4 separate regions of the Homo sapiens genome follow, and regions 1, 2 and 4 are each linked to region 3. Evidence: promoter capture Hi-C in 16 types of primary human blood cells and fetal thymus (Javierre and others, 2016). All regions are on one chromosome and are shown on one strand. The core of a region is centred on a gene start or on the middle of the fragment in contact, and the rest is flanking DNA. Distances in the headings are between cores, read along the strand shown. Region 1 overlaps SLC29A3 (solute carrier family 29 member 3). Region 2 overlaps SLC29A3 (solute carrier family 29 member 3). Region 3 holds the start of VSIR (V-set immunoregulatory receptor). Region 4 overlaps UNC5B (unc-5 netrin receptor B).

The links. The method cuts DNA at HindIII sites, captures the fragments that hold promoters and counts their contacts. A CHiCAGO score of 5 or more calls a contact.
Region 1: a fragment that was not itself captured here is called in contact with the fragment with the promoter of VSIR in region 3 in 5 of 17 cell types (megakaryocytes, naive B cells, monocytes and 2 more); the score reaches 5.9 in megakaryocytes.
Region 2: a contact is called between a fragment that was not itself captured here and the fragment with the promoter of VSIR in region 3, in 4 of 17 cell types (total CD8 T cells, naive CD8 T cells, monocytes and 1 more). The highest score is 6.6, in total CD8 T cells.
Region 4: a contact is called between a fragment that was not itself captured here and the fragment with the promoter of VSIR in region 3, in 4 of 17 cell types (M2 macrophages, M0 macrophages, M1 macrophages and 1 more). The highest score is 6.3, in M2 macrophages.

The regions. Positions count from the first base shown.
Region 1 is chr10:71,346,742-71,352,795 of GRCh38, reverse strand. It overlaps SLC29A3 (solute carrier family 29 member 3), which reads right to left. Exons shown (of 6, transcript NM_018344.6): 4 at 1,008-1,234. LOC105378353 (a long non-coding RNA gene) reads left to right here and starts at 4,729. Exons shown (of 3, transcript XR_946051.3): 1 at 4,729-4,894. RefSeq lists enhancers at 842-1,342, 1,343-1,843. The HindIII fragment of the contact is 1,633 bases long and covers 692-2,324 here.
Region 2 is chr10:71,329,057-71,335,072 of GRCh38, reverse strand. The region is part of intron 2 of SLC29A3 (solute carrier family 29 member 3); the gene reads right to left. Among named protein-coding and RNA genes, the nearest start is that of SLC29A3, 13 kb to the right of the region's middle. The HindIII fragment of the contact is 4,820 bases long and covers 1-4,237 here.
Region 3 is chr10:71,770,950-71,777,189 of GRCh38, reverse strand. It overlaps VSIR (V-set immunoregulatory receptor), which reads left to right and starts at 3,670. Exons shown (of 7, transcript NM_022153.2): 1 at 3,670-3,832. The coding sequence starts at 3,751. All of the region lies in intron 38 of CDH23 (cadherin related 23), which reads right to left. RefSeq lists silencers at 3,441-3,770, 3,791-3,870. The HindIII fragment of the contact is 7,388 bases long and covers 2,452-6,240 here.
Region 4 is chr10:71,292,475-71,298,809 of GRCh38, reverse strand. UNC5B (unc-5 netrin receptor B) reads right to left here. Exons shown (of 17, transcript NM_170744.5): 11 at 6,256-6,335; 12 at 5,237-5,405; 13 at 4,877-5,110; 14 at 2,850-2,999; 15 at 2,068-2,232; 16 at 720-901. Among named protein-coding and RNA genes, the nearest start is that of SLC29A3, 24 kb to the left of the region's middle. RefSeq lists an enhancer at 2,543-3,350. The HindIII fragment of the contact is 7,740 bases long and covers 1-6,335 here.

The DNA.
Region 1 (6,054 bases), core at 259-2,758, 420 kb after region 3:
GATGTGTGTGTCTCCAGCTTAGAGAACAAAAGTGCCAAGGCCTCCGGAACAGGCTCATCAACATCAGCATCAAACATCAGCTAGAGGGGTCGGCCCACGTCGTGCACAGGCATACCCACGGGATACCAAAGCTTGGGGGTGCTGGGGGTGAGAGTTTATTCACTGAGCCATCAGCTCCGAGGGGACTGGTGCTTGTTCATCTTTGCATCCCCAGGACATAGCAGGTCCTCTATAAAATCAGAAAGGAAGAAAAGACAGAAGGAAGGAAAGGAGACAAGAAGGGGAAGAAAGATAAGGAAAAGGAAAAATAGGAGAGGAATAGGAGAAGGAGGGAAGGAAAGGGAGGAAGGCTGGTTTCAGGAATTGCCTTTTGTAGGCAGACCATGTTATCCAAAAATAGCTGCGACTCTGTCTCCCCTCCTGCCTACCTTCTCACAGTCACGGTGGGAGACTTTCATACTCTCCCAGAGGTGGGTCCATCTGTCTTGAGTCTGGGTGAGCTTATGGCTATGGCAGAACTGACCCTATGTGGCTTCTTTTGCTAAATCAGAAATAAAGCTTCTGCCTGGATCTCCTGAAATGCCGGCTTTTGCAACCCAGACACCATGCCATGAGGAAGTCAAAGTTGCCATTTGAGGTCCACATAGAGAGGAACGGAAGTCCCTGGCCCCAGCCCAGCCCTGGCTAAGCTTCCAGCCAGCAGCCACTATCAACACGCCAGCCAGGAGGGCGTGCCACCTGGAACTGGATCCTCCGCTCCCCGTCGAGCTATGCTGGCTGATGCCATGGGGAGAAGAGAAGAGCTACACCTGCAAACTCCTGTCCAAGCTGCAAATTTGTGAGTAGTAGAAATGACCGTTGTTGTTCTACAACACTAGATGACTGAAACACAATCAGCACCCATGCCATTTCCTTTTCAGAAAAGGCCACCACATGCTCATCTCTGGCTCCCTCCCATGACTCCTGGGTGGATGAACCTGGTCAGCTGCCCGGACCCTGGCTCTCACCTGATATCAGTGCCTGGGAGTTCCTCATAGGAAAGGAGCCGGTCATGCCGTAGATGCTGCTGCTGAAGACAGTGGAGGCACCGCTGAGGATCACCATGCAGACAATGGTGACCGCAAAAAAGCCACGGGTCCAGGAGGAAGTGTCCACCTTCACCAGTGCAGTTATCACCATGAAGATGGCCAGGATGACCGTCAGTGAGGCCAGGACACGGATGTGGACTGCAACCCTGGGGCGAGGATGCCAGAAGCAGTTAGACACCCCTTCGGGGCTCCTGTGTGGGCTGGGGCTGGTGAGCCACCTTAAGGGAAGCAGGCGAGCTTAGCAGTTAGGACTGTTCACTCTGCAGTCAAGAGGCCTGCACTCGAATCCTGCCTTCCCGGCTCCCTAGCTGTGTGGCCTTGGGTAAGGGACTCAGTTGCTCTGGTTTCAGCTTTTGAACTTGTACAATGGGGAGAGTTGATTCAACTCACAGGGGGGTGAGGCTGAAGAGGTGAGCAGTGTGGGGTGCAAGCGGCAGTGCCTGGCTCAGGGCCAGCGCTCAGTGGGTTCTGCTGCTTTTCACCTTGCTGTGAGGTTCAAGGACACGAGGACACCAGGATGTTCAAGGCAAACCCCTGCTCTTCCTGCCACAGGGCTGAGCTCCTGCTGGCTTTGTCTAGTGTTTAAACAGAGCAGCCACCCACTGAGCTTCCTTTCCCCAAAACTTAGCAGGAGGTTTGGGGGCAAAGGGAAGAAGGAAAGAAAATCATCGTCGTCATCTTCATCATCATCGTCGCCATAGCAAACACTCAAACAGTGTTTAATGCATACTTTTCTAGCACTCTTCTAGGCATTTTCTGTATGCCAGTGTGTTTGATTGTTACACCGGTTCTGTAAGACAGGTATTCGTACCTATCCCATGTATACAGATAAGGAAGCTGACATCAGAGAGGCTGAGGAACTAGCTCAAAGTCACTCAGCAATGAACCCAGGAGGCCTGGCTCTGGTCAGTTCTCAGAATGATGCTCTACTGCCTCCCCTGGAGTGAGGAAATATGGATGGCACAGAAGTGGTGGCCAGGGCAGGGGCATCCTCCTGTGATGGCCTCAGTCATCATGGGGAGCAGGTGATGCCAAGTTAGTGCTGCCTGGGGCCAAGGGAACCCCCACACTCCCCAGCACCATGCCTGCATATGAGCCATGTACTCTTCCCAGCCCCCATACTGGCCTGGGGAGAAAAGCAGGGAAGGATTCTATCTGAGAAGCTGCACATTTTTATTCTAGGAAGCAAGAACATCATCTCAAGGGGCTGCTTAAATCATCAGATTAGACTAAGCTTTAAACCGGATTGGATGTGTAGTTAATTTTCCTGCTAACCAGTGGGAGGGGGCTGGGAGAAAAGCCAGATTACATACTTTTTTTTAATTAAAAAAAGAAAAACTTGAAAGGTAGGAAAAATACACACACACACACACACACACACACACACACACACGTAGGTGTGAAATGATGAGCAAGAAAAGCAAGAAAGGAATTTTTTCAAAGTGCTTTTGTGGCCCCAGGCTAATTTGAGTTTCCCTCTGGTCCTCAGCTAAAGGGAGAGCAGGTGCTGTCACTGCTTTCTAAGGGGTATGAGGAAGCCCAAGAAATGAAGGGACAGTTCAAGGTTGTGGAGTGAGTCTGTAGGGAGCTGGGATGAGAACCCAGGTGTGCTGAGCCCCAGCCCATCACTCAGTCTGTTAACATGTGTACTCAATGGTGTGGTCATTCCGCAAATGTGCATTGAGCAACTACTGTGTGTCCAGTACTATGCTGGATGCCCAGGACACGGGACAGACCAGCAACAGATATGTCATCTCACTGTGGTAGGTGCTCCATCAGGAGGCCCCAGGGCATCACACAGCACATCTGAGGGGCACAAAACCCACCCTGGGCATCGTGGAAGGCCATTTGGAGGCAATGTCTATGCTGGATGGTAACGACGAATGGGAGGATATAAGTGCATGTGTCTTGGGAGAGAGAGTGAGGCATGTTCAGGGAGCTGCAAATGGACTCTGGCTGTAGTCAAGATGCGAGCAGAGGAGCACAGAGGTGATGCTGGGGAGAGGCGTGGACTCATGTCCTGGAGGAGGGCGGGGTGTGGGGCCTTTGTCTGCCAGCACAATGTTCCCTGGGAGAACATTCCTTCGCCTAGTCATCCTGGGGAGGTGGTCAGCCAGGTTGCCCACACCCACACCCACACAGCCACAAACAACAGGCATGTGACGCAGCCTGGGGCAGTCAGTGTTGCCTGCTCCTAGACCCTGGGGTTGAGTTAGGAATTAGCATGTGACCCACATAGGATCTTTAAGTCTTCCCTGGGACTGCTACATGGGAGCCGTGGAGAGAAGCTCACTGCCGAGACTGTGTCTGGGGCTGCTGGCTGCCATCTAGCCAGTTGCGTAGGGCGAGGCTAGACATGGAGGAAAAGCCATGCAGAGACACACGGAGCCCAGGGGTGGTGCAGAGGAGATCCCCTAGATCCAAAGATGCCTAAAGGTGGACCTGCCTTTAATTTTCACTTAAAGAGGACATCCTTTTATTGTGGGTACTCAAAGTACCCACTAACGCAAAGAGGTACATCAGGGTTTCAAGCTGGGAATGATATGGTCAGAAGCTACAGCAATGCTGCTGGTGTCCTGCCCATGTGCCCTCCCTTTTACAACTCCAGGAGTGGTGTTACTTACCTGGGAGTGACAGGTAAGGAACACCTCCTAAGAGCAGCCTTCAACCAATGACTAGGGAAGTTGGTACATAAATACCCCAGCTCCCTCCTGCTCAGCCATGCTCCACACTGGCTCTCCAAGATCCCCAGCAGGACTGTGTTCTTGTCCCTCCTGAAGGAGCTGACTTGATAAGGCATCCTCTGCTGACTGCCTTCCCTTTCCTGTCCCCATTCCATACTCTCCCACCTTCACCTCCCAGATAAACTACTCGCATTTGAATCCTTGTTTCAGGGCCTGCTTGTGGGGAACCTTGCATTAAGATGCCCATGAAGACCTCACACTGACACACATCTTCTCAAGGTCTGCAGGGGCTTTGGCCTGGACAGGAGCTGTTGGGCAGCCAGGTAGACACCTGGACCCTTGGCGGCCCGGAGCATCTATCGTAAGAGTACAGCAGGGGCCCTGGAGGCCAGCAGTCAAGACTTACCCCTGATGCTCGAGGTGGTCCTACACACTCAGCTCTGTCACACAGTGTCCCCACCCTCTCCTAGCAGCTGGAGCTGTCCCACCCACTCCCAAGATAAGGGCCAGCAGGGCATGGAGCCTGAGTCAGGAGACCGGAGCCCTGCCCAGCTCTGTCATCGGCTCTCCGTGTAACCCCTGACAAATATTCAACCTCTCTGGGCCTCAGTCCCTTCATCTCTAAAAAGAAGCAGCTAGACCCGATAATATTAAGGTCCCTAACAGCTAATGATTCTAAATCTGAAAAAATTCAAGTGGAGAGAGAGGTTGGGAACAAATGCCAAGAAGTTTGAACCAGTTCCTTGGGGCAAGAAGGAGGCAAAGGCCAGGCTGGAAAGATGAGGCGCGCTGCAAAGGCAGAGCCCTGCCTTGTTCTCCCCCAGCACAGGCACAGGGCCTGGCAGGCACTGGGTAAATATTTGCTGGATGTACAAATTGACAAGCAAGGGAGATCAGTAGCACCCGGGGGTGGGGAGGTTTCATGCTGGTCTGAACCTCCCAGCGGCTGTCTGCTTCTTGATCCCTGCTGCCTCAGCATGGCAGGAAGTCCAGCTGGAAGCATCCGCCAGCCTCGGGAATGGCCTCTGCCTCTAACTGCCTCCTCACAGACACGGCCAGGAAAAAGTCCAGCAGGAATGGTGCAGCATCATGGGAGCCCTCCTGTGTGCCTGTCGCTACAAGGTAATAAGTTCCTTGAACAGGAAGGTTGTTTTGCAGAGAGCTGGGGGACTGCTTACTCAGGTACCCCCAGGGCAGGAAAGTTGGGGAGGAATCAGAGAGGAGGAGGTCAATACCAAATGCATTCCAGAAACGATGCAGTGTGGAACGCTGCTCTGTCCCCTCCTCTGTCCCCCTACATGGCCCTTCACCCGCACAGGTCTCCTTCCCGCCTGCTAATTATCTGCTGCATAAACCACTCTTGCCCAGAGCCTCCATCCGTGGGCTCTAGGGCTATTTTCAACATTCATCAAGCTTCATGAAATGTGCCAGCTGCAAGCCTGGTCCACAGGCATGAACAGAGGACACTGGCTTCCCTCTCTGCTGCTTCCACCCAGGAAGGGAGAGTGGCCCAGGGGACAGTCGTGCTCTTAGGGTCTTAGGAAAGTCTAGACTTTCAGCTGCTGTAATGTCTGGGGTTCTACTTGGAGACAGGGCATGGCCAAGAGGACAGCTTCAAGACCAAGACCCTGGGGCAGGTCTCAGTCCTGTGAAGACTCTTGGAGAGGCTGCCTCCAGTACCCAGGTTGCCGGTCCCCCGACTCCCTGACTCGTGAGGGCTCAGGACCCCACTTATGATTTCTTCATAAGTCTCCAAGATGTAAATCCTCCTCATAAGTATTTATGATGCTGCAGATTTAACATAATAAAACACTTGGCGATTATGGATAAGCCAGTCGGGAAAGCCACGGTTCTCCAGGAGGGGAGAAAAGGAGACTTTTCAATCTCGCACATTAAATAAAAAACAGCTTAGCCCCAGACCATCTTCCCACAGCCTGGAAACAGATGGAGGCCTCAGAGGATGTTCCTGCATTGCCCTTGCCCCCTCTCCTAGAGCCTAGGAGGAGCAGGGGCAGGCCAGGGGTGGGCTAATTCCCTCTGAGAATGTCCTGTAACTGCTGAGCCATCTGCCGGGACCCAATCTCAGAGGGTAGCTGGCCTGGGGGCCCACATCTCACTGGAGACAGACCCAGCCCTTCTTAACCACCCCCTTCCATCGCAGCAGCCTGAATCCCGGAGAGACAGGGCTCTCACTAGAAGGATCTTGGGAGTGGTTCTGCCTGCAGGGGCAGGGGTGGGTGCAAAGCTGGGGAACTAGGATGTAGGTGGCTCAGGGGTTCCAA
Region 2 (6,016 bases), core at 578-3,077, 440 kb after region 3:
TAGAGCTCATTCACTCATTCAACAAATGATGGCCAAGCAGCTTGTATGTGCTCAATGTGTTCTAGGGGCTGGGAATGCCAGTGTTCTAGGGAGGGAGGCACAAAAAAAAAAAAAAAGAAAAAAAAAGAGTCAACAGCAAGTGGGGGGAAAAAAGACTGCAAATTAGGATAAATGCAATAAAACTAAAATACAAATAATTGGCTAACCTAGAGCCTGGACAGAGGGAACAGCGTACGGTTGGCCCTGAGTCGGGAATGAGCTTGATGTGCTCAAGCCTCCACAGGGGTGAGCTGGAGTATGAATGGGGATGGGGGGAGGCTGGGGCCCAGGCAGGTCCGGGTGTGCAGGCTGTGGTGGAGGTGCACTGCGGGATCACGGTGCACAATCCAGCGATGGCGGTTCTTCCTCCTGTCCCTGTCTCCTCTCCACAAATACTCAGAGATGGATTCATCCTTCTGCAAATATTTACTGAGCTCGCTAGATGTTGTAGACATGGGAGATTCAGCTCAAGTTCCTGCCTTTATGGAACTGCCCATCTAGTCAAAGAGATGGCTAGCAAATGCATAAACAAATAGATAATAGGCCAGGCAGTGGTCAGTGATATGAAGACAAATTCAGCAGGGTAGGTACCACTATAATAGATCACAGAACTGGGAAAGAGCTGTAAGTGAGTGTTCCCAGTCCAGAGGTTAGCAGCGGGTTACCCCCGGGCCAAATCTGCCCTCTTCCTTTGTGTGAACACTGGAACGCGGTCGGCCTTCGGTCAGCCCATTTGTTTACATGTTGTCAAGGGCAGCTTTCACTCTGCAAGGGCAGGGCTGAGTAGCAAACAGAGACTGTGGGGCCCACAAAGCCTAAAATACGAACCATCTGGCCCTTTGCGGGAAAAGTTTCTGGGTCCCAATCTACGGTCTCATATCTTCATTCCTCAAAGGAGGACATGGTCTCAAGTCACCCAGCAAGTTTGAAACACAGTCAGAAACAGAAGCCAGCTCTCCTGAATCCAGAGTCTTTCTGCCAGGCAGGGTGAGCAAGGAAGATGGAAACCTCATTTCTACCTACCTTTATACCCTGCCTCGGCCAAGCCTTCGCAAGGTCCCCTAGCAAGGGGCAAGCTGACTGCTCTGATTCTTATCCCCTTTATTCCCCTCATGTACTCTCAGGCTGTAACCAGAATAGGCAGAGTAAGGGCTCAGAAACCAAGGGGTCAGAGAAACAGGGAACCTCACGGATCCATGCACGAGTGACCCCAAGCTCCCTGAGGATGAGCTGATCAGAGGCTCAGCCACTGCTGATGCTCGGGCCAGCCAGTCTTTCCTCTTCTGCAGCCTGACTTCTGCCATGTGATAGGGAAAAGAGGAAGAAGGCCTTTCAAGAAAACACCCCACCTACTCTTGCCTGACCGGGCAGGCTTCTGCATCCCCCAGAGGGTCCCGTGCATCAGTGTCACAAGGCTGATGACCAGGGACAAGGGCCATGCCCTGTGGCCTGGTGGTAATGAGGAGGTGGTCTGGGGGTGCTCCAGCCTCTCTCTGTAGTAGAAAACCTTAGGGACCATCAGGAAGAGGGAGTCCTTAGCCAACCCCTGGCAGGCACTTCCTCAACAACAGACTGCTCCCGCCTTGGGAAGGCTGTTTCTCTTTGGAGGTGCATGTGGGCAGAAACCACAGGCTGCTCTAGGCCTCAGGTGCCTGCATGCAGACAGGCACAGACGTGCACAGAAACACAGGCACATAGGGAGAAACAGCAGCTGTCCTCTGCCTCCACTAGAGTACTCATTAACCCATTAAACAGGCAAAGGCTGTTACACAGTCCTCCCAGGCAGTGAGGACCGGCAAGAGGCCAGCAAGGAGGTCCCAGGCACCCAGTGCTGCAGACCCTTCCCAGGCTGCCTGCCTGTGTCAAAAGCGCTGGGCTCCTTGGTGGAGACTCTAATTTAGGTTCCGCTCTCTGGACACTTGTGATATCAATCATGTTAAAGAGACACTGGAGCACTTAAGGTCCAGGCCATCTTCTAATTTGTCCAGGAAATCGCCTCTGGATTTTAAGGATATATGCAGGAAGAAATAAAATCGAAGGCAGAGAGGGAGCAGTCAATAGCCTGGAGGGCAAGGGAGCGCAGCGCGGGTGGGGAAGAAGGGTCGTGAGCACTTAGGGAGAAAATAAGAAGAGAACTAGAGAAGCTGAGGCCACCAAAGGCATGACTGACAGCGTTTCAAACTAGGCTTTTTTCCCCTCTGCAGGATGCAGCAAGAGCTAAAAACAGAAGAAAAAGCCATCACAGGTGTATTATTTATTGGGAATGGCACGCTGGCTGGGCCCGCAGTTAGAATCAGAGGGTGGACAAGGGGATTTTAAAAAATGACTCACTTTTGGTTCTAATTTTTAAAAATGGTGTAGAGCAGTCATCCACGCCAGCCAAAGCAACTGGCAGCCACTCATGCACACCCAGTGGCAGAAAGCCTGAAGCCCATGCTGCCTGACCTCAGACTCCCCATCTCTTTTCCTAGGATGACAAAGCTCAGGCAAAATCCCACTTTAATACACTTCTTTCTATGCGGGGAGGAGGGGTGTTGTGCCCTTCTCCACTCTTGGGAATTCTGCTCTTAAACATTGGATTGCTGGTAGGGTGCAGTGGTTCACGCCTGTAATCCCAGCACTTTGAGAGGCCAAGGTGGGCGGATCACTTGAGGTCAGGAGTTCAAGACCAACCTGGCCAACATGGTGAAACCCCATCTCTACCAAAAATACAAAAATTAGCCAGGTGTGGTGGCGGGCGCCTGTAATCCCAGCTACTCAGGAGGCTGAGGCAGCAGAATCACTTGAACCCGGGAGGCAGAGTGAACCCAGGAGCCAAGATCGCACTACTGCACTCCAACCTCGGCGATACAATAAGAATGTGTCTCAAAAAAAAAAAAAAGAAAAAAAAGAAAAAGAAAAGAGAAGAAAAAAGAAAAAAAGAATAAAAGAGGATTGCAAAGGGAGTCTAAACATTGTTTCCATTTGGAGAGAGATCTGAGTAGCACTAAAACGGTTCTGCAGGAACACCACCTGGCACAAAGGAGAGACTCCTAGATACCTGCTCCCCTGGCCAGCTGGCAACAGGACCACCTGGCAACAGTGCCCAGGCCTCACCCAGGGAGATAAAGCCATCAGGGAAGGGTCTAGGAATCCGGGTATTTGGCAAGTGTCCCAGGAAATCTGATACTGATTCAGGTACCCTGGGCTGCCACCCCCCTTCTTATTAGCTATGTGGCACCAACGAGTTACTTACTGTCTCTACTTTCCTCCTCTGTGGAATGAGGACATGACGCATCCTCATAGATGGCTACAAAGTTAGGGGAAACAGGCAGAGCAGGGTTTTTCAAACTACAGGTTGCACAGCTCATTAAAGAATATGAAATTCATTTGATGGGTCACGACCAGAATTTTATTTTATTCTATTTAATCCTTTGTTGCCTTCTTTCTTACTAAAGGTGAGTGAGCTGTCTGCATCTTTTTCTGGAACCCTTCTCTGTGCACCTGAGCCCTCTGGCCTGCTCATGGACCTCGCTGAGCTATGCTCCCTCTTCTTCATCATGCGTTTTTCCTTCTCTGCTGGATCATTTGCTTCCACACACAAACTGCCTGCTATGTCTCTCGTATTAAAAATAAAAGAACAGAAAATTCTCCCCCTTCTGAATCACAGTTCCCTGCAGCTTGTGCCTCATTGTCCTGCTCCCATTTAAAGCAAAATTCCTTGAGTTTGCTGTCTCCTCTGTCTCTCCCCCCATCCTCCACGATGCTGCTCCCCAAGGTCACCATGAACCTGCACAAGGTCAAACTCAAGGACAAACTTTCCATCCTCATCCTGCATGGCTTACAACCAGCACTGCCACTGTTGCATCACTTGCTCCTCCTTGAAACTGCAGTCAGAGTGGAGTTTTCTTTTTTTAAGTACAGACGCAGCTTCATGAAACTGTTGTTTGCATTATAGACACAAATATCTTGCCAGGTGAGACAGCCATCATGCTCCAAAAAATTTCGAAAATGCTGATATAAAGCACTGGGGTTAAGATCACGGATACCTGGGTTGACAGGGCCCAGGTCTGAGTCCCAGTCATCACTTACTTTGTACCTGGGAGCAAATGACTTAAACTTTTCAACCTTGGTTTCCTTCTCTGTATAATGGGTATAATAAACCTATGTCTTTGGGCTGTAAAAAAAAAACAAACAAAAGATCATGAAAAAAAAAGCTTCTAGTACACAGTAGATTGCTTAATAAATATTGCTGAGTTAATGAATGAATCTGTGCCCTTAGCAGTGCCTGGCACATGGTAAGAGCTTAGTAAAGGCAGCGAATGTTGGGATTTAGTGAAGTCCTCATGCAGGAGCCACCATCTATAAGGCACACCATAACTGTCAGGACTTTCCACCCTACCTGTGTCTGCAGCGTTATGTAAATGCTGCCAGGTGGGTCTGTGGGCAAAAGGCCCAAGGGCGACAGAGCATGCCTCCAACCCACACAGTGGGTAAGGGCACTGCTAGACTAGAGTCCCTCTGTTGCCAAATCTGGGTTCCTCCCAGCTACCTTGTGGTCCTATGAGACAGGACCAATCCACCTTTCACCTAGCTGTGGAGCCTTTACCAAATAGATATCCTGTGACTTTTAAACCTCTGGGAACAGGGAGCCTCCACTCCCTGACACAGCACAGAGAGGTTACCCAGCTGGGTCAGGGCCTCAGGACTGCCTCTCTTCTGCTCTCCCAGTTTCACTTGCTCTTGCTTTGTGCCACCCCAGGTGTAGGATGCCCATGTTGAGCCCAGTTGGCCCTATCACTCCTTTTCCAGGAGCCTGGGAAATTGGAAGGAAGAGGAGGGTGGCTGTGGAGCCCCCATCTCCTAACTATATCCCTTGGCCCCCTGGCCCAGCAAAGGGGAGCATTACCAAGAGAAAGGGCAAAGGCTCTTCCAGGGGCCACCACTGGCTGGCGTGGAACTGTGGGCTTGCGGGTGGAGCTCAAGCCCAGAGCATTTCCGTTAGACAAGCACCGAACCCTCCAACCACCTACATTTGTAGGGAGTCCCATGAGGAACCCCACACTCGAGGTAGACTAGGCCAACTCCTTAGACTTCCCACAGGATGTGGCCCTAATTCTCCAAGGGGGAAACTGTCCCCTTCACTGCCAGGTTTGACAACTCGACTTGCATGGCAGGAAGTTCTCCCAGAAGGCTCACCTAAGTCTCTCATGATGTAGCCTTTGCCTGTTTAATGGGTTAATGGGTACTCTAGTGGAGGCAGAGGACAGCTGCTTTTTCTCCCTATGTGGTAACATTTTACTTGAATCATAGTCCTTTTTGTTTTGAGACTGGTGTTTCACTATGTTGCCAAGTCTGAACTCGAACTCCTGGGCTCAAGCTCACTGTTCTGTTCTCCCACCTCAGCCTCCTGAGTAGCTGGAACTACAGGCACACGCGACCACACCTGGCTTGGATCACGGTTCTTATCTGGCTACACATTAGCCTTATCTAGAGAACTTAAAATGCTTGTGCCCAGGCCCCTCAGAATGAATTAGAATTGGGTGAGTGGAACACGTGGGATGTGGGGTATTTTCTTTTCTTTTTTTTTTTTTTTTGAGACAGAGTCTTGCTCTGTTGCCCAGGCTGGAGTGCAGTGCCACGATCATGGCTCACTGCAGCCTCTGCCTCCCAGGTTCCAACGAATCTCCTGCCTCAGCCTCCTGGGTAGCTGGGATTACAGGCACACGCAGGTGGGGTATTTTCTAAAAGCTTCCCAGGTGATCCCGATGTGCAGCCAGGGCTGAGCGTGCCAAGGTAGACAGATAGCTTGGAGAACACGCTGGTTATAAGCATGGGCTCTGCAGTTCTATCACTTGCTAGCAAATAACCTTGGGTCAGTGGCCTAAAATCTGTGAGCCTTGGTTTCATTTGGCAACTGGAATGGCAGCACCTAGCTCACCAGGATGTCATGTGGAAAAAGAAGATGGCAGGTCAAGCGGGAGGTGGGTACAGGCTG
Region 3 (6,240 bases), core at 2,421-4,920:
GAAAGAAATACATATTTTCAGCATTTCCAGAAGGAGGACATTGGGTTTGTGGCAATTTCGTGGGCAGAACTTGTTGACCTGTGAAAAATAAGACTCACAGAACATAACTTCATTCCAAGAACAGCTTCTACAACATACTCTCCTGTGATCGGCCATCTCTGCCAATGCTTGAGTCAATTGGACCACAAGTAATATTCAGCTAATCAGAACTCGGCAATCAGCACTCAAGAATCAACTAGAAATGGTTCTTGCTCCTGCTTCCTGCCTTTCTCCACCTGGGAAGATGTCCCCTGTGGACTAACTGCCTTACCCTGGCTCCCTTGCTATCCAGCTTCCTGCTGGGTGTGGCCAATGGGAGGCCCTGGCTGAAGATGAAAGCAGTGGGGAGAAAGAGGCGGGGGTGTTTCTTCCACACTCCCTCCATTCCTCACTGCGGTTCTGCCCATGGCTGTGTTTCTCCTGCTTGGGGACAGGGGTCCCCCTTTCATAGCACCAGCTTTCACTGGGCTCCAGAACATCACTTCCTCTTCTTTCCCTTTGGACATGTGAGTGGTAGTGGCTTCCTGTGGTTGGTGCTAGTCTCTGGGTGCTTTACCAGCCTTCCTAAACAGTCCCTGTATTAAACTCTCTTCAGTTGAACCCTTTCTGAGTGTGCCATCTGTTTCCTGCCAGGACCCTAACTAATACAAATCATAATGAGTGACTAATATAAAATAATAAGGTGTTAATCACTGCAAAGGTGTCTGGGTAGAGAGAACGTGACTAGGCCATTGCCAGGCCAGAGAACAGAAAGCAGGTGGTACAGACAACTCAATGTAGGCAATTTGCATATGGTTTTTTCCTTGGGACTGGCTGGCTCTGGAGCTACCACTGGAAGAATGGACAGATGGGCAGGGGATCTGGACCCAAGAAGGCTGTCACTGCCCCTGAGGAGGCAATGATTCCTCTGATATGCAGCTCTGGATCTTGGGGGTGGAGGGCATTGGGTGTTTGCTGAAACGGTTTCCAAAGCAGATAGGGTTGGCAGCCTTGAAAAGGAGCTGCGTGGCCTTGGGCAGGTCACATCCCCTCTCTGGACCTTTTCTGTCTGTTTAATAAAGGACCTGGCTTGATTTCTAAAGTTGTTTCTAGCTCAGGGAGTTTGGGAGGTGAGTTTGGGAATGTGGGAAATGTCAGCATCCCCTCCCCAACAGGGAGGCTGGAATTCAGCCCCTTTCCTGCAATGTGGTGCTCTTGTATTCTTGCCGGCAAGTAAGGGGACTCAGGAAGGCTCAAGGCTGGGCCCCTCACCAGTAGAGAGTACTCACAGCTGCCTCCAGGCCCTGCAGAGCCACAAGATGGACATGGTGGCTTTCCTTGACAGTCATCTTTATTCGAATATTTGGGGCCTTCACCACTATTTTTAATGAAAACAAGCACAAACACATGATGGAGTGTGCAGGCTGCAGGGGCTGGGAGTGGAGAGTTTGAACAGAGTTGGGCCTTGGAGCCCCTCCTGCTCTGAGACCAGGTCTGGGCTTGGGGAGGGAAGGTGGGTTTGACTTCCTCTGGTCTCGGAGGGAGGAGAAAGTCAGTGCTCCAAAGGCCCTCTCAGCTGAGCCCTTCCTGTCCTGCCCTGGTGTTGAGGAAACAGTGCTTGAGGTTTCTGGACCATGGTCCTTGGGCAATGCCTGTGTCTCACCCTGATGCAACCCCAGGAGGCTCAGTGGTGGGCAGTGTGGTAGGGAGAAAGGAAGTGAAAAGGGGGGAGGGAACTGGGCCCAGCTCAGAGGCTCTATCCCCCTGGGGAAGGGGTTGGCAGGGCAATTGCTCCCCTTTCTCTAATTCCAGGCCCTCCCCGGCTGCTAGGCCCTGGGGAAGAGGGAGTCTGGTTTCAAGGGTGTCCTGAGCAAAGCCAGTCCAGGAAGGGTTGAGATGGGGTGGTGCTCTAGGATCTTGCCCTTAAGGGACCCCCCTCACTTGCCAGAGGATGTCAGGGTGAGAAGGGCCCGGTGTCCACCTGATCTCAGTTGGCTTTGTACCTCCCCTGGTGGAAGGGAGCTCATGCTATGCCAGCAGGAAGGGCCCTGGGCTGCCTTCCAAGGTGGGGTCACAAGGCCAGGAGCATGCCCAAGGACCTGGGTTATGTCCTGCCAGCCTCTGGGGCTCCCATCCTGGGGAGTTCACTGGCTCCAGGGGGACTGGGCCTGCACAAGTTCACTTAGTAATAACATGATGCCTCAGCCTTCCTCTGTTGTAGCCTTCCCTGCCCTTAGAGCAAGGGCTAAGGGCCTCCAGAGAGCCCGTGACTTGGATCAGGCCACCCACAAGGCCCCCAGGACTCCTGGCTCCCATTGAGTCCTGATACCCTGGTTCCTGACCCAGTCAGACTCTGAGTGTCCTCTGCCTCTCAGCCTAGGAGTCACCTATTAACCCAAGATCCCTAAAGTGCCAGAAAAACCCCTGGAAGCTTCAGCTAGACTGGGGTAAACTGAGTAAAATGGCTGTGCTCTTCCACTCCTGTGATCCCTGGTCCTGGCCACGATCACCTCTGCTCCTCCATCACACAATCACTCACTCACTCATTGGTTTGTCCATTCAGATAAAAGTGCAGTAAAACCTTCTCCACGCCCAGCTTTGTGCTAGGGTCTCAGAAACATCAGAGAGAGGTTTGTAGTTTCGCTCTGGAGGGCAGAACAGCCGGAAGAAGAACCAACTGCTGGTTATCTCAGGCTGGAGGTGGTAGCTGAAGGGGGTGTGGACAGTAAGGATTTGCCGGGAAAAAGGAAGGGTCAGGACATTTCGTGAAGTGGGAGGACTTGAGCTGAGCCCTGAGGGATGAGAAGAATTAGGAGGGGAGAGACATTCCAGTGGTGCCAGCAGTGCTGGGTGTGGGTGCAAGAGCAGAGGCACTAGAAGTTAGGGTGCATCAGAGTGTCCTGCAGATATCCAGGCACCAGGGAGGGAGGGCGGGTGCACAGCCAGGCGGACAGCTGAGGCCTCTGCCGGAGGGGAGCTTGCAGGATGTGCTGTGGGGCACGCCAACAGGTGTTGCCTGCATATCTGTGTGTGTCCCGGGGTAGGGATGTGCTGATCTTGGCGTGTAGTCCTGCACCTGTTCTGTGTGTGTGTGTGTGTGTGTGTGTGTGTGTGTGTGTGCGCGCGCGCATGCACTCAGGGTGCCTCAGGCTCTGAATCTACAGTTAAACTGGCTCCAGCTTGCCTAGCTCTTCACAATGTCAGATTTCATTCATTCACTCATTTACTCACTCATTCCACAGCTGGGAGTGCCTACCACATACCAAGCCCTGGTCTGGCTGGAGGATGTAGGGTACAAGTCTCTGTCCCCAGATCACTCAAAGGCTGGTGGCTGAGGGCAGATGCAAGCCATGGTAACGTCTATCACGCTGTTAGAGGTAGATCTACTTCTTAGGCTGCGCAGCAATAATAATTTCTCTCCAAAAGGACTGGGGGACGGTAGAACGGGCTTTAAACTGCCGATCAAGTGGAGCTGACTCGCTGGGACGCACGCTGGCTCCCCACCCACGGGGCCGGCCTCCGGGAAGCCCCTCCCACGCGGCCCTCGGAGAGGCAGTTCCCCCACACGGCCCCCCGGGGGCGCTGCGCGAAGGGGGCGGGTGCCTGGAGCACGGCGCTGGGGCCGCCCGCAGCGCTCACTCGCTCGCACTCAGTCGCGGGAGGCTTCCCCGCGCCGGCCGCGTCCCGCCCGCTCCCCGGCACCAGAAGTTCCTCTGCGCGTCCGACGGCGACATGGGCGTCCCCACGGCCCTGGAGGCCGGCAGCTGGCGCTGGGGATCCCTGCTCTTCGCTCTCTTCCTGGCTGCGTCCCTAGGTAAGGTCGGGGGAGGCGGGGCGCTGGGAAAAAGCTGGGAGAAGACAGCAGACTGGAGTGGGAACTGTGGGATGGGGGCGTCCTGGGGGCCCTCTCAGCCTGTGTGACCGTGCACCCCACTCCACCCACCGCCCAGAGGCTGCTGGGACCCCTAGGCAGGGTGCAGTGGCAACTGTGCCAAGTGCCCCAGCTAGGCATCGGGCACATCTGCATGCTCTGACAGCTGCCCAAGTGGCAGGCAGGGCTGTCCCCTGAGGGCTGCCTGTCCAGCCCTTCCCTGCCCAGAGAACCCAGGGCACAGGTAGCTTCTGCAAAGAAGGAGAGGCACAGGGTGGGGGCGGTCAGTGTGTTCTGGTGGATATCACTGGCTTTTGACAGCTGGCATCTTTCTGCCCCTCTAGTCTCAGGGCTCTAGTGTTGCAGAGGACACAGAGGGCGTGGTATGCTCAGCCAGTGCCCCATGCCCTGGTGAAACCCCTGGCTGAGCCTTGGTGGGCACTGGGCACTGGTCACGGTGGGTCCACTTTCAGACACAGAGGCAGCACTGCCCACCTGGTCCCTATTCTAAGGGTCTGATGGCCCAGGAATAAGTGGTCAGCTGATTCCTGCCATCCTAGCAAGGCTGCCACTCAGGGACCAGTGTGGAGTACTGGGGAGGATGTGGGACACTCTTCAGCTCAGCTATGAGCCCCTTCTGGGTCCCTGGATAAATTACGGCATCTCTCTGGCCTCAGTTTCCTCAGCTCAAACACAGAAGCCCACACAGGGAAGCACCATTTTCCCCTTCCAAAGTCCAGACTGTCAGCATGTTCAGATAGTATCCTGGCCCCAACACAGGGGCTCCCGGGCTGGGGGCAGAGGCCCTGGTACCCATGGCCTGGTTGCCTAGTTCTTGCCTGCCCAGAGCTGAAGAGGCTGGATCTCTTCAAAGAGCCTGTGGAACCAAACTTTATAGGGAGGGCCCAGGGAAAGTATGAGTCATGCAGGGACTCGGAGGGAGGCAGGAGGGAGGTGGAGGGCTTGGCACAGGGACCCAGTGGGCAGGATGGAATAGAAGGAGAGGGTGATAGGATAAGAGGGAGAGGAGGAGGCTGAACCTGGAAGATACCTTAGCAACCTGGGTGCCCACAGGCAGCTGGCTATCTCAGCACTTGGAGGCTGGCCTGGGCCTCTGAGGAGGAGGAGGGCTCCACATGTCACAGACACAGCTGCCCTAAGCCCCAGGGTGGATGCTTCTCAAGGTGACAGTCAGAGGGAGGAGGAGAATGGGAGGTGGAATGGACAGTCTCAGCACCAAGGCCATGGCTCATGGCAGGGCATGGCTTCCAGAAGGAACAGAGGATGGTGGCAGGCAGGCAAGCCAGCATCCCACCTGTCATGGGCCACCTGCCCTGCACTGCCCTCCCTGGTGGCCCTGTGAGACCCTTCCTGCTTTCTTGCCCACTTCCTGCCCTCACTTGGCTGGGCTGCCCTCTGTTCAGCAGCCCCAATTTGAGAAACATTTCTAGAGATCCAGGGCACAGGGACCCAGCTTGCAGAGCACCCAGTAGCAGAGAGGCCCCAAGAGGAGCTCAGGACGCCTTCCCCTATATTGCTTATATGGCCAGGGGCCTTTACTCCCAGAGGTCTTGGCTACTCAAACAACATGGTATACTAAAGGGTCATCTCTTCCTGGGCCCAGCACAGGGAGATGATTTAGGCTGGCTGCAGCTTTCCACTGAAAGGAGCCAGAAGCATTTGAATTGCTCTGGGACCTCAGGATTCTGAACTGTGACATGGACACACTATAATAGATATTCACCCAACTCCCTAGGACAGTGTGCACTGAGGGAGATAGCAGATGGGAGGCCTGGTTGCAGGCATGGTCAGCAGGATCTGTAAGTTGAGAAGATTGATCACCAGCCTGCCGAGGTGCTGGGTTGCCCTGGGTATGTTGCCCAAGGTCAAAGCCTTTATGCCAGGGAAAGTGAGATAGAGTGGCCGGGGCCAGCCTGTTCTCCAGCTCTTGGGGTTGGGCCAGCACTGAGGAGAATGGTAGTGATGAATGTGGTGTTCAGAAGCCCAGGAAACACCAAAGATACCCCTTTCCTGGGCCTGACTCAGGGTGAGATGGGTGGAGAGGTACACTTAGGGACCAGGACCCAGCAGATCTCAAGGGTAGCAGAGCCTCTTCTTCCCCACAGACATTCCCAGGACCCGAGGCAGTTACTGTCCTTGCCCTGTCCTCACAGGCTGACTCAGGACTCCCAACCTCTGGGACTAGCACATTTAAGTGCACTGGGGCTAGGGACGAGAGACCCCATCTTCTCCTTCATAGCAAACCAGGCTGCAGGGCCTTGTTGAGTAACCCAGTGCTGCAAGCCTCTGACGCAGCAATGGTCAGCTCTTAGGAAATCCACAACCCACTG
Region 4 (6,335 bases), core at 1,635-4,134, 480 kb after region 3:
ATCATCATTATTATCATTGAAAGACACTGGCCCCAAGAGAGAATGACCACGTCTAGCATGTGGTCATTCCTCCCACCCGTGTTCCCTCCTGCTCCCATGAACTCCCCTGATAGGAGGAATAAAGCCTTAGCCATCTTTGTAAGTCCTATTCATTTCTAGTAAAATGTCTTATCTAAAGCATATTTTATTTATTTATTTTTTGAGACTCAATGCAGGTTTATTACACATCTTTCAATAAGTATAATATTTATTATCATTGGCCTTATATTTATCCAGCACTTATCCAGCATTTGAGGTTCTCCAAAGGAGTTTTGACACCAAAGTGTATCTTGGTCAGTCAGCAAGCATCTCGCAGCACATTCTCTGTCCTAGATACCAGGTGCTGACAATGATGGCACCAAGCTGATGCCCTGGCTTTGAGTCTCCTGCTGTTCGGTGAGATGGGCAGGTGGAGCATTATCCCCACACAATGGGAAAAGAGCAGGGTCTGAGAGTCTGCCTGGCTCAAGGACCAGTGCTCTGAGCATGATGCTCCTCAAGGGAGCAGTATTCTTGAACTTTGCATATCCAATCCTGAGTTGCTGATTTGCCACAAATGGTGGCAAAAGGGCAGCTGGTCTGGGAGATGGTCGTGGCTGTCAGGCTGCCTGCCCTGCCTGCCCCTGTGAGACCTTGAGGACGAAGGCAGATGGGGATGGGCTGTGGTTTGGGATACTCACCGGTCCATAGAGAGCTTCTGTGCTAACATCCGCCAGTCATTGCCCCGTGAGTTGGGGGCATCTAGGCTGTTGCATATCTTCTGGCGGATGGACAGTGGGATCTTGAAGGCATAAGGTCCCAGCTGGGTGGTGACAGTGCTGCCAGGGGCAGAGCAGAGAGTGTCCAGGGAGCCAGCAGGTGTCTGCAAGGGTGGGGGCCAAGAGTGAGAGGGGCACAGTGCTGGGCATCTGCCCTCCAGCCTCCCTCCCCTTGGACTGTGAGCTCATTGAGCCTTGAGTCACTCCCACCTCCTCTGGACAGACTCCCACTGTTCAGGCAGGGGCTTCTCCCTTGAAGGGTCGGTTCCCAAGGGCAAGGCCTGCATGGCCACCCTTCAGGCCTCAGGGGGTGCACCATGCTTACCTAAGGCCCCAGGCAAATGCAGATGCAGCCTCATGGTTAGGAAGCCCCAAGGAGGCCCAGCCACAGTCTAATCCACATGCACCCTCTTGTACAGGTGGAAAGTGAAGTCTAGAAAAGGGGAGTGGCTTGCTCATGGCCACATGCCAAGTTAGTGGCAGACCTGGGTCCAGACCTGTATCCAGTGCTCTTTACAATGCCCCAAGAGGAGGATCTAGTGTTGTCACCCTGGGTGGCCTGGGTTTTTAAATCTCAATCCGGATTTTTAACGGTTGAGAACCACAGGCCTGGTCCTTGCATCAACCTGGGTTCGAATCCAGTCTTGCCACTGGTGTACTGTGTGCAAATCCTTGCCCTTCCTAAAACCTACTTTCTCACCTCCCAGGTGGGGATGATATCTGTCATGCATCTCCCGGTGCTTGTGAGATCATGTAAGTTTTTTGGTATATGCCAAGCATGTGAATGGCACTCAATCAATAAATGACACTTGTTAGAAAAACATGACCAGATACCCGCTCAGACTTGGGAGGTGAGAGGGAACTACAGGGTTCTGTGTGCTGCAGCCCAGCCCCAAACCCTAGAGGTATCCTCTGGCCCTCACCTCCACCAGCGTGGTGTGCAGCTGGAATATCTGGCGGCCCTTCCCTCACCTATGCCACAGTGCTGTGCAGCCGGAATATCTGGCCGCCCTTCCCTCACCTCCACCAGAGTGGTGTGCAGCCGGAATATCTGGCCGCCCTTCCCTCACCTCCGCCAGCGTGGTGTGCAGCTGGAATATCTGCCCCACCCTTCCCTCACCTCCGCCAGCGTGGTGTGCAGCTGGAATATCTGCCCCACCCTTCCCTCACCTCCGCCAGCGTGGTGTGCAGCTGGAATATCTGCCCCACCCTTCCCTCACCTCCGCCAGTGTGGTGTGCAGCTGGAATATGTGGCCCCGACTTCCCTCACCTCTGCCAGAGTGGTATGCAGCTGGAATATCTGGCCCTCCCCTTCCACTTGCCGCACGCAGATCTTGCAGGTGAGCTCTGTGGAGGCCAAGCTGTGCCTCTCCAGGGTGAAAGTGCAGTGGAGGGCCTTCTGGCTGCCACTCCAAATGTGATAGAAGGGGATCTCCTGCAGGAGGAGGGGGTCAGGACCAGGCAGGCAAGGCCAGCCTGCCCTGTCCTCATAGAAATGGAGGCTCAGGGAGGGTTGGGAGCTTTGGGGGGCAGTTCAGGCCTCTCCACCCAGATAGGGAGGGGTCAAGTGCCCTAAGCTAGCCAGCTGAGTTGGTGTCAGGCCCTCAGTTCCAGAAGGGAGCTGAGGGTGGGTAGGTGGGGGAGGGAAAGGCACAGGTGTGTGTGTGTCAGGGGCTAGGGGGCCTTGTGGTCTCAGGCGCTGCTGGGTGGGCAGCGGGCTGTGGCTGTCAGAGATGAGATGGGCAGTCTGCCAGGAGGGCATGCCCTGAAGGGTGAGGAGCCTCTGTGAGGATGAAGGGCATAGTCGTCTGTGCGTGTGAGGGTGTGACAGGGCAGAAGTGTGCATGTGGCTGCCCATTGCCCTGAATTTGGGGACGTGCCTGGGGATGGCTGAAAGCCTAGAGACTGGGGTGGGAGGAGACAGAGACAGTGAGAGATCCAGGGAGGGGTAAGGCCACAGGACAGAGCTAGGAGGCAGGGCCCGGGAGGGAGCTGGGCTTCCCGGGCAGCCCTTAAGTGGTGCCCCTCCCCATCCATCAGCCCAGCCCTCACCTGGTATTTGGCCAGCAGCTTGCTCCTCCAATGGGCATGGGGGAGGTCATGGAGGGAGAGGCGCAGGTTGTGGTAACTGTCCTTGAACATTAGCGGTTTCGGCTCCTCCACCAAGTATCCGCCCAGAGTCCGCTCCAGCTCCAGCACCTCCTGTGGGCCAGGGGCATGGGGAAGGGGAACCCATCACACCTGGCCAATGGGCCTCTTCTGTGGCACTGTGCGGGGCAGGGGGCAGGGGCCCATCTGAGTGCATGGCTGGGCATTTGCAAGAGCTCACAGAGGGCTTATGGTGTGAGAAGATGAATAGATGACGGATGGATAGACAGACAGTGGGAAAGATGACTAGATGAATGAATCTATAGATGACCGTATGGCTAGAGGGACTAATAAATGGACAGATGGATGGATAAACGGATTGATGGCTAGAAAGACAGACAGATGAATATACAGATGGATATACAAGGATGGGTATATGAATAGAAAGATGGAAGAAAAGATAAATGAATGGATAGACGAGCAATGACTGGGTAAACAGATGGGCTGCTGACTGAATGGGTATATGGTCAGATGAACAGAAAGACAGATGGATGGATGAACAGATGGACAGATGGATGGATGGAGGGTTGAATAAACAAAGAATGCCATCAGGCCCAAACCTGGTAACTTCTCTCTTGATTTCTATACCACTCTCTGGCCAAAGCTGGCCATTAGCCAACGCCCCAGGACCAAGAGATCCAGCTGCAGGAGCACTTCCCAGGCACCTTGCACCCATCACAGGGCCACTGGCATCTCAAGCCAGGGTCCTCCCAGCAGGGGACACTCCTTCTCCCATGGGCCTTTCACCTATGTTGTCTGCAGTGTGGGCTTTGGGACAAGTCCCATGAGCCTGGGAGATGAAGGAGCTGGACGGGGCCAGGGAGCAGGAACAGAAAGTGCATGGAGCCATGGGAAAGGACCATGAGGCGCTGAGGAGGGCAGATGGGAGGAGGGAGGGGAAGGGGCTCACACACGGCCAAGTGTCTGTATGCTTCCAGGGTTACATCAGGATGAGCCTGAGCTCCTGAGAATGGGAGGAGAACTTGGGGGAATGCACAAGGGCTCTGAGGCTGGCAGGGGACAGTGGTGCTAACACGGGGCTCCATACCTGCCATCATCAGGCTCTAGGTACTAAAAGACCCTTCCCTCCCCTTCCCTCCCTCCTGTCCCAACCACCCCTCATCTGCATGACCCTTCCTTCACTTGGGGCACCGCTCTCCATCCTTCTGCATATGCTAGGAGCCTGGCTGTCAGCCTTAACTTCCCTCTCCCACTGCCCATCCCATCAGTCACCGGTTCTGTCCATTTGACTGAGCACACGCAGCATCCAGCCCCGCCTCTCCTGGCTGCTGTCACTCCCTGTGGCCCAGGGTCCAACCCCAGCTTCCCAACAGGCCTCTCCACCTCTCATCTACCCACCCAAGTATAGCCACAGGGGCTTTCTAAAGAGCACCTGTGAACAGGTGTCTACCAGGTCCATTCCCCTTCCTGCCGGATGGATTCCAAATTCCTTGGCAAGGGGCCCTGAGGCTTCTGGGAAGCTGAGCCCTGCCCATCTCGCCCGCCCTCACATTCACACATTCCCTATGCCTTTTAGTTGGTCATGCTGAAACGCTTATGAAACGCAGTCATTTCTGTCGGTCTGGAATGCCCTTCACTCCTTTCTGCTGAAACTCCTACATGTCAGCCTTCTCAGAGTCCCTCCCTACCAGCCCAAGCCCCTCCCAGTCTGATGCTCCCTCAGTCCTGGGGCAGACCCCATCAGAGCCTTCAGGGATCCCTGGTCTGCCTCCCACCTCTAACCTGGATCTTGGTGAGGCAGGCCCTGTGCCCAAGGCTGTTTCAGTGTGTGAGGGTCGCAAGCGGGACCTAATAATGCTGGTGGCGGGGAGGGGTTCCTGGGAGGACCCATGAGCCTGGGGTGGGGGATTCTGGCAGGGATCATGCAGCTGGCCGGCCAGGGCTGTGTGGGCACCTGCAGCTGGCCCTACCTTCAGTGCTACAGGCGTGTCCTCCAGGCAGTAGACCCGGAGGCTGTACTCCAGGGAGGTGCAGAGGGCGGGGGCGAAGACGGCCAGCTGGAGCCGCTTGACTGCTGAGCGGGAATAGGACTCGCCCGTGAACACGTAGGTGCCCAGCTGGTCCAGCAGGATGTGACAGGCCCTGGGCTCCAGCTGGCAGTAGCAGGGTGTGTTCAGGGTCTCCTCATCCAGGGTCACCACCTCCTGTAGGGGACAGCAAGGGTGGGGTAGTGGTCACAGTTATTCAGGCTGGGCCAGAGGAAAAGGGCTTTCTTTTGCCTCCCTGGGCAGGTTGGGAGAGCTGGGCCAGCCTTCACCGTGGCTCCTCACCTCCCAGTGGCCCTGGTGGGCCTGGGTCTTGAGCTGAAAGATCCAGTCACGGGCACTGACTTCGGCACAGTGGGGCATGGTGAGGATGACGGGGCGGCACAGCAGGAGGCCTGTGGGTCCACAGGTCACCGAGGGGCTCAATACTGTCTGGGTCCCTTCTGAAAGCGGGCTGGAGGAGGACACAGGGTAGGAGAGAGGCAGTGAAGAGCTCGGCAAAGGTGCAGGCTCCTGCTGGGCTCCCAAGTCTGCCCAGGGCCCGGGAGGTGGAGGGCAGCTCTTTGCCACTCAGGGCTCTGCATTCCCAGAGGTCATGGGGGCAAAGGAGGCAAAGAAAATGGCATGAACCTTGAGGTTGTTTCCAGATTTTTGCTATTCCACTGCAACATTATCATAGCTCAAAATTCCTGGCTTATATTTTCCAAGGTTGTGTAATCTTGGAAGGTTTTCAATAGGTCACGCTAAAGTGCCCTCCAGGGAGCTGGTTCCAATCTATACTCCCGGCCACGTGCCACAGAAGGCCATGTTCCCACCCCCTTGCCAGCAAGAGGGTATTATCATTTGGGAAAAGGTCCTTGCAAATTCCTTAATAATAATAATTTAAAAATCCCAGTATACCTTGTGGTGGTTTTCATTAGTTTTCTCTGCAAATTAGACTAAACATTTTCTCATAACCTACTGGCCAGTGTGTTTGTGTGAGACAGTGTGTGTGAATCACGTGTTCATATCCTTTGCCCATTTTCACAGTGAGATGTTTACTTTTTCTTATTGATCTACAAAATCTCTTTACATAGTAAGGATATTCAGCCCTTTGTCACACTTGTAGCCAGCTTGTCAACCGCCTTTGAGTTTTACAATTTACGGTGTTGGTTCTGCAAGTTTTCAATATGGACACAGTAAGATTAATACTTTCCTTGGAGGACTGTTTGGTCTTGGCATCAGGCTTAGAAGGGGAGCCACGTGTGGGCAGGCAGCAAGGGATGGGAGGAAGAAAAAGGAGCAGCGGCTGGGGCTCTACTCACAGGGTACTTTCTGCCTTGTTGATGAGTAGATACATCTCGTAGAACTTGCCCTGGGGAATGGCTCCATTGGGCACCAGCAA